2 separate regions of the Homo sapiens genome follow, and region 1 is linked to region 2. Evidence: promoter capture Hi-C in human tissues and cell types (Jung and others, 2019). All regions are on one chromosome and are shown on one strand. Each heading gives the region's core, a stretch centred on a gene start or on the middle of the fragment in contact. The rest is flanking DNA. Distances are from core to core; before and after follow the strand shown.

Region 1 (5,645 bases), core at 747-3,246, 150 kb before region 2:
TTATTCTAGAGCAGGGATCAGTAAACTATGGCCTGAGGTACAAGTCTGACCATAGCCTGCTTCTGTGTGGGCCCAAGAGGTAGGAATGGTTTTTACATTTTTTAAGGGTTGTAAGAAATACAAAAAATAATACGTGACAGAGACCATATGTGGCCTGCAAAGTCTAAATATTTACTATCTGGCCCTTTACAAAAAAGTTTGCAGACCACTGTTCTACAGTAAAAATCGCAAGTCATTCAAATACAAGCTACTATATTATTCAACAAAAACTGTCTTCAGAGCAATGAGCTGAAAAATCAAAAACAAACAAACAAACAAACAAACAGTGATCAACATTAGGTAGTGTATGTTTGGCCCTAAGATGCTAAAGAACTTACATGATCTAAATGGATGAGTTATTTTTTCATCAGCAACAGACAACCATATTTAAAAAAAAACACACACACATTTCCATAGCATTTTTACTGCAACCAGAATAAGCACATTCCTCTCTCTTTGGTATTTTTTTTAGTAAAGGTATATTTCCAGAGAGGAAAGACCTGATGTTACCTGCGGGCACAGACTGCTCCTGAGTGCTTTTCAGTTCCGCATTTGTTTGTATATCTGAAAAGAAAGAGGTTATAAATATTAGCTACTTAGGGTACATTTCTACAGGTTTGAGCATTCCAAATTTAATAAGGGATACCATTTCGGAAAACTTAACAGCAGAATTCCTCTTTCAGAGCAAGATTACTCTTTCTCTATATTCTCCCTAAAAGCCTTTCAAGGAGCATGAAAAAAAAATATTGATGCAGCAATGTTACTCTAAGAACTTTCTGCCAGAGATCTACTTACACCAAGAACAATATGCAAAAAGTGGGTTCCATTAGAAATAATTTCATATATTCTTTATTCTTCCCCAATATTTTATTATGAACACATAGAAAAAAAGAGTTCAAAGTGGTATATATATATATATGTACATATATATGTACATATATATAATGAAATACTATTCAGCAATTAAAAAGAATAAAATCATGTCATTTGCAGCAATATGGATGGAGCTGGAAGTCACTATGTTAAGTGAAATAAGTCAGGCACAGAAAGACAAATATCACATGTTCTCATTCATATATGACAGTAAACACGTTGATCTCATGGAGGTGGAAAGTAGAATGATAGACAGGGTGTGTGGGTGGGAATGGGGGATGAAGAGAGATTAGTTAATGGGTAAAACATATAGTTACATAGAAGGCATAAGCTCTAATGTTTGACAGCAGAGTAGGGTGACTATAGTTAACAACGACGTATTATATATTTCAAAATAGCTAGAAGAGAGGACTTGAATTGTTTCCAACACATAGAAATGATAAATACTCAAGGTGATAAACATTCCAAATTCCCTGACTTGATTATTATATATTCTATGCATGTAACAAAATATCACATGTGCCCCATAAATATGTAAAATATTATGTATCAATAAAAAATTTTAAAAAAAGAACTGCACAGTTGAACATCCATTACTCACCCTCTGGATTCTACAATTAACATTTTGCTATTTTTGCTTTCTCACATATGTTTCCACCCATTCATCTCTCAATCCATTCATCGATCCAGCTTTTTCAACGCATTGCAAAATAAGTTGCAGATATCAGTATACCTCAGTCCTAACATTTCAGCATGATTATTATTAACTAAAATTCAATATCTGTTTACAAGATTTTAAAAAGTAAATTTTACATACAGTGATATGCATGGATCTTAAGTGTACCATTCAATGAGTTTTTAAAAATGCATATCCTCATGTAATGCAAACCCCTATCAAGATACAGAACATTACCATCATCCCAGAAAAGCTCCCTCACATCTCTTCCTAGTCAATTCCCACCCACATACTCCAGAGACAACTACTGTTTTGACTTTTTCCACCATAGATTAGTTTAGCCTATTTTAGAACTTCATAAAAACAGAATCACACAGACATATGGTATAAATTATTTTGCCCGAGGCTTCTTTCACTCAACATAATGTTTTGAGATACATCCATTCTGTGGTGTTTATCAGTAGTTCATTCTTTTTTATTGCTAAGTAGTATTCCATATGAATATCCCAGTTTGTTTATCCATTCTCCTATTGATGGACACCTAGACTGTTTCCAGTTTGGGCTATTTATAAGTCAAACTACTATGATATTCCTTTTTAAAATAATAAACTTTTAAATTTTAGAGTAGTTTTAAATTTATGGAAAAATTGCAAAGATAGCACAGAGAGTTCCCATATACCCCACACCCAATTTCCCCTATTATTAACATCTTATATTAGTATGGTACATCAGTTATAATTAATGAATATATATTCATACATTATTACTATCTAAGTATTCAGATTTCCTTAGTTTTCATCTAATGTCCTTTTTCTGTTGCAGGATCCCTTCCAGGATCCCACATTACATTTAGTCATCTTGTCTCCTTAGGCTCCTCTTGGTTGGGACAGTTTCTCAGACTTTCCTTGTTTTGATGATCTTGACAGTTTTGAGTACTGGTCAGGTATTTTGTAGAATGTCCCTCAACTGGGATGTGTTTGTTTTTCTCATGATTAGACTGGAGCATGATCATCCTTGCACAAGTATTTCTGTGGTCATATGCTTTCATGTCTCTTGAGTCAATACCTAGGTGTGGAATTACTGGGTTATAGGGTAGGAGGCATATATCTAGTTTCAACACAGTGAAACTAGAACTTGTTCAAAAGTGCTTCTTCCCTCTACTTTGGGCTTAACTTACTCTGCTTCTGCCCTCTTAAGGTGAAATTTTAGTGACTGACTTTATTCCTTTCTTCTTTTCTAATTGTAAACATTTAAAGCTATAAGTTTTCCTGTAAGCATTGCTTTAGCTGCATCTCATAAATGCTGATGTTTTGATTATAATTCAGTTCTAATTTCCCTCGAGTCTTCTGTGATCCACTGGTTATTTATAAGTGTTTAATTTCCAGATATTTGGGGGAATTCGGGAATTCTTTAGCTAACTTGTTATTGAAGTCAAATTCCATTGCACTACAGTCAGAGAACACAGTCTGTGTGACTGTAGTCCTTTTAAAAGTATTAAGACTGGTGTTCTTGGTGAATGTGCCATGTGTAGTTGAGACATATGTATGTTCTGGTTTTTGTTGGTTTTCTTTGTTTGTTTTGTTTTGCTTTGCAGATCTGGCTGAGGCTTTATTTTGGAGGAAAAAAAAATGATGTAATTGTTTTGTAGCTGGAGGCATGGGCAAGGGGGGTATCCCAGGCAGTAAACTCCCCATGGGTGGGCTGAGGGTTAGGGCTGAGCCTCAGGTGGGTCTCCTGTTCCCTATACTCCCCTGCACAGTGGCCTCCTCCACAGGCTCTGGAGAAGCCATGGGAGGGGGTAGGCTGGGAGGGGCTGCTATGGCCTTTCACCTGGGCAGGACATCAGAGGACTGGGACACCAGCTTCCCATCGTGGTCTTGATCTTCTTCACAACCACAGCCCTAGAGAAGCAGGCACAGCCAAAGGAGCTGGAGCCCCCGCCAGAGCCAAAGCTGGATCCCAAGCCATAGCTGAGGCCAGGGCTTGTAAGGCCCCTGTAGGCTGAGCTCAGCCCACCTGAGTAGCCCCTGGTGGTCTTCATATGGATACTCATGCTCTGCATCCCAGACTTCAGCTGGCTCTCCTTGCCCTCCAGCAACTTCCTGTAGGTGGCGATCTCAATGTCCAGGGCCAGCTTGATGGTCATCAGCTCCTGGTACTTGAGCAGCTGACGCGCCACGTCCTGCTTGGCCCACTGTAGGGCGGCCTCCAGCTTGGACCCCCTGGCATTGGCATCCTTAATGGACCGCTCCCCACACATACACAATGGCGGCCTCCAGGGAAGCCCTCTGGCCTTTGAGGCCCTCTGTCTCAGACTGGAGCCGGCTGATGTTCCAGTTTATCTTGGAGATCTCCGTCTTTGTACAACGCAGGTCATCCTGTGCTTCCCAGGCAGGGTCTGCAGCTCCTCATACTTGATCTGGTGCATGCTGTCAGCCTTGGCCTGGCTGCGGTTGGCGATCTTCTCATACTGGGCCTCGACCTCAGCAATGATGCCGTCCGTGTCCAGGGAGCAGCTGTTATGCGTGGACAGCCCCACAGATGTGTCCAAGATCTGGGACTGGAGCTCCCAGATCTCCTCTTCATACAGCTGCCTGAGGAAGCTGATCTTGTAAGCTTGCCATCCAGGTAAGACTCCATCCAGCTCCACCCTATTCATGTATGCCTCATCCACATCCTTCTTGATGAGGACAATTTTATTCTCCATCTCTGTATGCTTACTGATCTCATCCTCGTACTTGTTCTTGAAGTCCTCCACCAGCCCCTGCATGTTGCCAAGATCTGCCTCCAGTTTCAGCTTCTCCTGGCCTAGAGTGTCCAGCTGCCACGGAGGTTTGTTGATGTAGCTCTTGGACATGTTGTCCATGCTGCTCCAAGCTGTCTTCTGCTGCCGCAGGAGGCTCTACTTGGTCTCCAGCATCTTGTTCTGCTGCTTCAGGAACCGCGATGAAGGGGGCAAACTTGTTGAGGGTCTTAATCTGCTCCTTCTCCTGAGTGCACACGGCCTGGATGTTGGGGTCCACCTCCAGCTTAAGGGGGCTCAGCAGGCTCTGGTTGACCATGATGGCTGTGATGCCTCCTATAACCACCAGCTCGGCCATAGCCTCCACCCAGACCCATGCTGGCACCCAGGACACCCTGGACACTGCTGCTGCTGCCCACTTGGGAGAAGCTCGAGGAACTGACGCAGGCACCAGGCCTACTCATGTTGGAGTGGCTGCTGAAGGTCCGGGGCCAGAGGTGGACACCCTGTAGAACTTCTGGGTCACCCTGATGGACATGGTGGAGGCGGGAGTGGAGGCAGGTGGGCAGAAACAGGGGGAGATTCAATAAGTAGTGGAGAAACTGCTTCTAGGTATTCTGCAGTTCTCAAGTGTACTGTTTAATAAATGTTAATTAAATCAAGGTAGTTGACAATGTCATTCAGATCTATGGATATACTAATTTTTGACTAGTTGTTTAGTTGCTGAAAAAGGAGTATTAAAATCTCCAAATATGACTGTTGATTTGTCTATTTCTCTCTGTTCTAGGGACTATAAAATATATCTTTAATTTTCCAGGCTTCTTAGAGTTAAAATTATACACTTCACATAAAATGTAAAAAGCTTGCAACCATTTAGGCCCATTTCCTACCCTCCAACCTTTATACTATAGTTGTCATATGTATCACATCTGCATATACTTTAAACCTTACCATACAATGCTAATTCTTGCTTTGAATAGTCATATTGTATTTTAAAGATTAAAATGAAAAAATAGTACTTTCTAATTACCCACATATTTAACATTTCTGGTGCCTTTTTTTTCTTTTTTTGAGATAGGGTCTCACTGTGTTGCCAGGCTGGAGTGCAGTGGCACAATCATGGTTCACTGCAGCCTCGACCTCCTGGGCTCAAGCAATCCTCCCACCTCAGCCTCCCAAGTAACTAGGACTACAGAAGCACCACCATGCCTGGCTAATTTAAAAAAAATTCTTTTGTAGGGACGGGGGTCTCACTGTGTTGCCCAGGTTGGTCTCAAACTCCTGGGCTCAAATGATCCTCCCACCTCAGCCTCC
Region 2 (5,991 bases), core at 739-3,238:
CCCTGTCTCTACTAAAAATTAAAAAAAAAAAAATTAAAAATTAGCTGGACATGGTGGCTCGCACCTGTAGTCCCAGCTACTCAGGAGAAGGAGGCAGGAGAATCGCTTGAACCCCAGAGGGGGAGGTTGCAGTGAGCCAAGATCACGACACTGTACTCCCTAGCCTGGCCAACAGAACGAGATTCCGTTTAAAAAAAAAAAAAAGTTTTATGAGTGGAAGAATTTCTCTAAGGATTTTGGTCCGTGGAGTCAGACTCTCCCCCAGTGTCTTAGTCACCCCCTGCCCAGCCTGGTTCCCTCATCCACCAAGAATTCATGACCAACTGCCAGAAGCTTTGTGTTATGCCGCCAGCCTCCCTGATCCTGAGCACCTTCCAAAGCCTCACTCTATTGCTCATGGATATACTGGGTTGTTATCTGCTGACTTGGTTGTTTTCTCCTTGTGATGTAAACTTAATAGAGAGATGAGCTAACACCCTAACTATCTAGAAGAGTAACTCCTTTGATTGTTAAGGATGAACATAACTCATCTGTTTTCTTCCTTACCATTCTCGCCCACCTTCAGTTGCAGATATGGTGTTATGAAGAGGTTCTAATGAGTTTATTCCAATGATGATTCAAAAGTCCTGTTATCCACCCCCCAGCCCTGGAGGGTGAGAGGACAGTTGAGGAGGAACTGGTCAAGGCATGTTCCCTAAAACTAGAGCACATATCTTTCCAGTTAGCGAGTGGCTGTTTAACGCAAGGAACATCCTGCAATCCTATGAAAGAGGATGCAAAAGATATGCAGGATACCCTTTATATATGCAAAGGAGGAGGTCAAAACATATTTCCTGCCTTCTAGGTCCTTACAACAGGGCTAGATTGTCTTGTAGGGTCCGTGAAAGGTCTAAAACTCAGGACTTCCACTTATGGGAGAGAGAAAAGTTTCAAGGTAGGGAGAGAGTTTTTGTTGTGTGTTCTAAGAAATTGGGAGCTATATCCTTCACCTTGTTTCACCTTCCCTGCAGAACCAGTGGGGCAGTCCTTTGAAAAATAAGTGGGTAGGGTTTCTTGTCCAATTTGCTTCCCCTTAGGTACACCACTAAGTAAACCATCATTCTCTCCTTAGGCACACCATTATTCTGTTCCCCATTTCACAATGTCTGTCTGGATGTATAAAAGCCCTCTCAATGGGCTCCCTAAAGCGTCTGCCAGTAGGGGCTCCCACCCTCTTTCCTCAACACTCCCAATCCACCGCAGCCCAGAGCACAGTGTCTGCTTATCTAACCATCTGACTCCCCCGTATACTACATTCTTGAGCTGTTTTTCACCCCCCTATTTGCTAACCGTGGGCCGTACATAGGGTGGACCCCTATATTTTGTTAAACTGGAGTGATTCTACGCAAATGCACGCTCCTACCTATCGGCACTCCCAGCCTGCAGAAATTGTATGCCTTATGTTCAGCACTAAACTCAAATCTAACCAAGGAAGTCCGGATCCCATAGGGTTCTTCCTACTCTCCAGTTCGGTTTATTTTAAGGCCAACAGCCCTAGCTTCACGTCCCTCCTTCACAGCCTTCTTTCCTTCCCTCCTGCCGGATGCGCCCGGCAGCCGTTGAGCACAAGCCCAGCGGATCTGGAAGGAGACCCCGCCGCGACCGGGGAAAATTGAGCGAACTTGGGCGCAAAACCCGCCCGGCAACTCGTGACGTCATCTCGTCCCGCGCTCGGATAGGCTGTACCCACTCCACGCTGGTTGAGGCGCTCTTAAAGTCCTTTGTAACCCAGATTGGAGCCTGAGGGGACCTCTCGTGGACGCCCACAGAAATGCACTCGAGAGGAACATAAAAGCATCACACTTAAGCGCTCGAAAGAAAGCCCCACGAACCCATAAAGGCTCCTCCCCGCTCCTTCCTCGAAGCTCCTCCTTCATCCTGCACCTCGGCTGTGGATTTATTTCCCCTTTGTTGACTCGGCCATCGGCCTGCCGGGCCTGGCGTTTCCCAGAAGGCCCAGCGCCGGGAAGGGGTTTGCAGCTGCTCCGTCATCGTGCGGCCCGACGCTATCTCGCGCTCGTGTGCAGGCCCGGCTCGGCTCCTGGTCCCCGGTGCGAGGGTTAACGCGAGGCCCCGGCCTCGGTCCCCGGACTAGGCCGTGACCCCGGGTGCCATGAAGCAGGAGGGCTCGGCGCGGCGCCGCGGCGCGGACAAGGCGAAACCGCCGCCCGGCGGAGGAGAACAAGAACCCCCACCGCCGCCGGCCCCCCAGGATGTGGAGATGAAAGAGGAGGCAGCGACGGGTGGCGGGTCGACGGGGGAGGCAGACGGCAAGACGGCGGCGGCAGCGGCTGAGCACTCCCAGCGAGAGCTGGACACAGTCACCTTGGAGGGTACGGCAGCCCAGGCCGGGAACGTGCCGCGATCGCGGGTGACAGCGACCCCTGTGATTTGGCTTCTTGCTGGGAAGCCACAGCAGCCTCCACCACCCTCAGTTCTTTGGGATCACCCCCAGATACCTGCTCCCACTGCCCCGACACTCCCGACTCCAGGCCCAATGACTGAACCTTCTCTCCAGGCTGGGAACCACTCCCCTCCCATCCCCTCCATCCCCATATCTGGGGTTGCATCTATATCTAGGTCCCAGTGGGCCTGGGGACTCCCTCTTTTAAGTCCTCCCCTCTGACCTATTCCGTTTATATCCCACCCGACTGATTTTAGCGCCTCCAATATATGACTGATTGTTCCCGCTGGAAACCAGTGTTTGTGTCTGTGTGTAAACAGGGCCAGGATGACCTAGAATATTGACTCCTGAGTTTTAAAACTGTACAGCAGATTTTTGTTGTCCTAGCTGCCTTTAGCACACTCCCCCGAATGAACCATTTCGACCTAGTATCTTGTTTCCTACTTCTCTAACTGAAGTGTCCCAACAGTCCCCTTGCTGTCTCCTCCCTTCAGGTCCTTACTGCCCCTCTGTTTCTAAAGGGTTTAAGTACATACACACTTAAAACTTTTCGGGTGTCATCTTTGTTTGGTTTTGTAATACTCAACCTTTGGCCTAAACTCCTATATACCGGTGTCTCCTATTTCTTTTCTCCGAGGTTCCTGTTTCGAGTGTCTGTAGTCCTCTTGTTCCTCCAAGTTCATGTTTTACTTTTCCCACTTACAGCGTCCTGTTTCCATTTGAAGTGGGCAAAGTGAGAGCTTCCCACTGTGATCCTGGTGCCATTTTCCTGGTTCTGGATCAAGTGGGACCAGACTACTTACTAGGTTTTCTTTTCACTAAAATGCGTGAGAAACTAGCTCAAAAACATTGAGATAAGCAAAGTTATCCTCCTAGGTGGTGCTTTTGAGGATGTGATGGTGTTGACTACATCAGCTCTTACTGTAAAGTTGAGCAACAGGATCGATATTTAATAGAGATCCTTTTACCTAAAGTAGTGGCAGCAATGTCAAAGGTGCCACTCAGCATTGCCTACTGGGTGTGTTTATTACAGGCACTTCATTTTCTTCTTGTAAAGTAATTCATATTCATTGCAGAAATTGTGGAATGTATGAGAAGTTAAAAGCAGGGGATAAAAAACATGGTTAACATTTTTTCTTGTGAATTTTTGAGCTGTTCTCCTATAATTGAGAGCAAGTTATGTATACAGTTTGTATCAAGGCATAACTAAATATAAATTTTGAATTTTATGTGTTTTCATTAACATTCGTAAACATAATCAGCATTCAATTTATTCCAGAAACATTTATTGAATACCCAATATAATGGTTAAGAGTACAAGTTCTGGAATTAGTTCCCTCATCTGTATAAATACAAGTAATAGTACAGTACTTTATTGGGTTGTTGTGAACATTAAAATGCTTAAAACTGTGCCTAGCACATAAATATCAGCTGTTATTATTTATATCATTAGTGTGGCCCAGATACCCTGTGCTAATCGGTGAATATACAGAAGTGCCTAAGAAACTACTCATTGATTGCATTCCCTTATTGCTTTGCATTTAAACTGTTTCTAGTTTCTTGCTATCATAAATAGCTTTGAAGCAATCATCTTTGTGCCCAACTTAAAAAATCTACTTTTCTAATTATTTCTTCAGTACAGATTCCCACCAAAACCTATATGCCTGAGTTTAAAAGGCTGAACATTTTAAAGGTTTTTGATAGTTATTGTCCAGAAAAACTGTGCTGATTTACATTATACCAGGAGAAATGTAGTTTTCACTGTACTCTATAATTTTTTTTTTTTTTTGAGACGGAGTCTCGCTCTGTTGCCCAGGCTGGAGTGCAATGGCGCGATCTCGGCTCACTGCAACCTCTGCCTCCCAAGTTCAAGCGATTCTCCTGCCTCAGCTTCCCGAGTAGCTGGGATTACGGTCACCCACCACCACGCCCGGCTAATTTTTTTATTTTTAGTAGAGACTGGGTTTCACCATGTTGGCCAGGCTGGTCTCCAACTGCTACCCTTAATGATCCGCCCTCCTCAGCCTCCCAAAGTACTGGGATTACAGGCGTGAGCCACTGTGCCCCACCTATAATTTTTTTAATGTTACAAATTTGGTAGTTTAAAAATGTTTCCATTTGCAATTACTCAAATACTAATGGAATATAATTTTTGTCTGTTAGCTATTTTTCCTCTTTGTATGTTAGTTCGTCTCCATTTTTGTTTTGAAATTGTGGCAATATAATCATTATACCATTATATCTCTTAACCATTTATACAAGCTCTTTATAGAATAAAAATATGAATCTTTGATCACATTTGTTGAAAATATTTTTCTTTTGTATACACAGTTATCTAAAAGGGTTTTTTTAAATGAAGTCAAGCCCATTAATCTTTTGTGCGTATGTGATTTCTCCCATTGTTCACATTTAGAAAGTCTTTTCCATTAAGATCTGATAAATCTGGACTCCAGGTTTCTGTAGTTAATTGGTTTTTCTTTTCTTCCTCTGTCATCCTCTACCCCATCCTGCACCCCCACTGTATGTTTTTCTTGCCACTTGGTTATGTCTTAAAATCAGTGTGTGGAATCTGTAAATATTATGGACCCCATTAGGGCAGAAAAGGTGAGTGGTCGCATTTTGCCCCTCTGTGAGAGGCTCCTTAGAACTCCTTGCCTGGCCGGCACGGTGGCTCACGCCTATAATCCCAGCACTTTGGGAGGCCAAGGCGGGCAGATCACGAGGTCAGGAGATCGAGACCATCCTGGCTAACACGGTGAAACCCCGTCTCTACTAAAAATACAAAAAATTTAGCCAGGCGTGGTGGCGGGTGCCTGTAGTCCCAGCTACTCGGGAGGCTGAGGCAGGAGAATGGTGTGAACCCAGCAGGCAGAGCTTGCAGTGAGCCGAGATCACACCACTGCACTCCGGCCTGGGCGACAGAGTGAGACTCCGTCTCAAAAAAAAAAAAAAAAAAAAAAAGAACTCCTTGCCTGGAGTGGTGGGGGACTAGGAGTGAAAGTGACATCATTTTCTTCTCTGCTCTTCTTCAGACATCAAGGAGCACGTGAAACAGCTAGAGAAAGCGGTTTCAGGCAAGGAGCCGAGATTCGTGCTGCGGGCCCTGCGGATGCTGCCTTCCACATCACGCCGCCTCAACCACTATGTTCTGTATAAGGCTGTGCAGGGCTTCTTCACTTCAAATAATGCCACTCGAGACTTTTTGCTCCCCTTCCTGGAAGAGGTGAGTGAGTCAGGCCAACTTAAAGGGTGCAGGCCTGGCCTCAGATCCCCAGGAACAGCATTGTTTTCCATCCTAAAGTCCCATCTTATTACCTGTGGTAGCATGAGGAGAGAAGCCAAAGCAGTCCATTTGAATACTCATCTGCACAGTGACAAGGGAACCGTCCACTGCCCTGTAGTGTCATTCTTCAAAGTCAGGGGATCAGGACCCTCCCAGCCAAACTCATTTCCCACTACCCTGCAACCTGTACCCCCTACTCCAGTTGAGGTTGCGTTGGGTGACCTCTCTGTTGTTCTAGGAGAGAGAAGGTGCTGCTGCCTCTTTC

Evidence for each region. The method cuts DNA at HindIII sites, captures the fragments that hold promoters and counts their contacts. A contact is called where the count stands out against the background at its distance.
Region 1: a fragment that was not itself captured here is called in contact with the fragment with the promoter of PSMD3 in region 2 in 1 of the 25 tissues and cell types used here (IMR-90 fibroblasts).

Annotation. Positions count from the first base shown.
Region 1 is chr17:39,831,549-39,837,193 of GRCh38, forward strand. IKZF3 (IKAROS family zinc finger 3) reads right to left here. Exons shown (of 8, transcript NM_012481.5): 2 at 550-603. It also overlaps the pseudogene KRT8P34. Among named protein-coding and RNA genes, the nearest start is that of IKZF3, 30 kb to the right of the region's middle. RefSeq lists an enhancer at 3,848-4,347. The HindIII fragment of the contact is 5,404 bases long and covers 1-4,698 here.
Region 2 is chr17:39,978,819-39,984,809 of GRCh38, forward strand. It overlaps PSMD3 (proteasome 26S subunit, non-ATPase 3), which reads left to right and starts at 1,989. Exons shown (of 12, transcript NM_002809.4): 1 at 1,989-2,372; 2 at 5,476-5,666. The coding sequence starts at 2,153. RefSeq lists enhancers at 1-998, 1,420-1,599, 1,820-2,099, 1,900-2,877 and a silencer at 2,280-2,329. The HindIII fragment of the contact is 7,545 bases long and covers 1-5,991 here.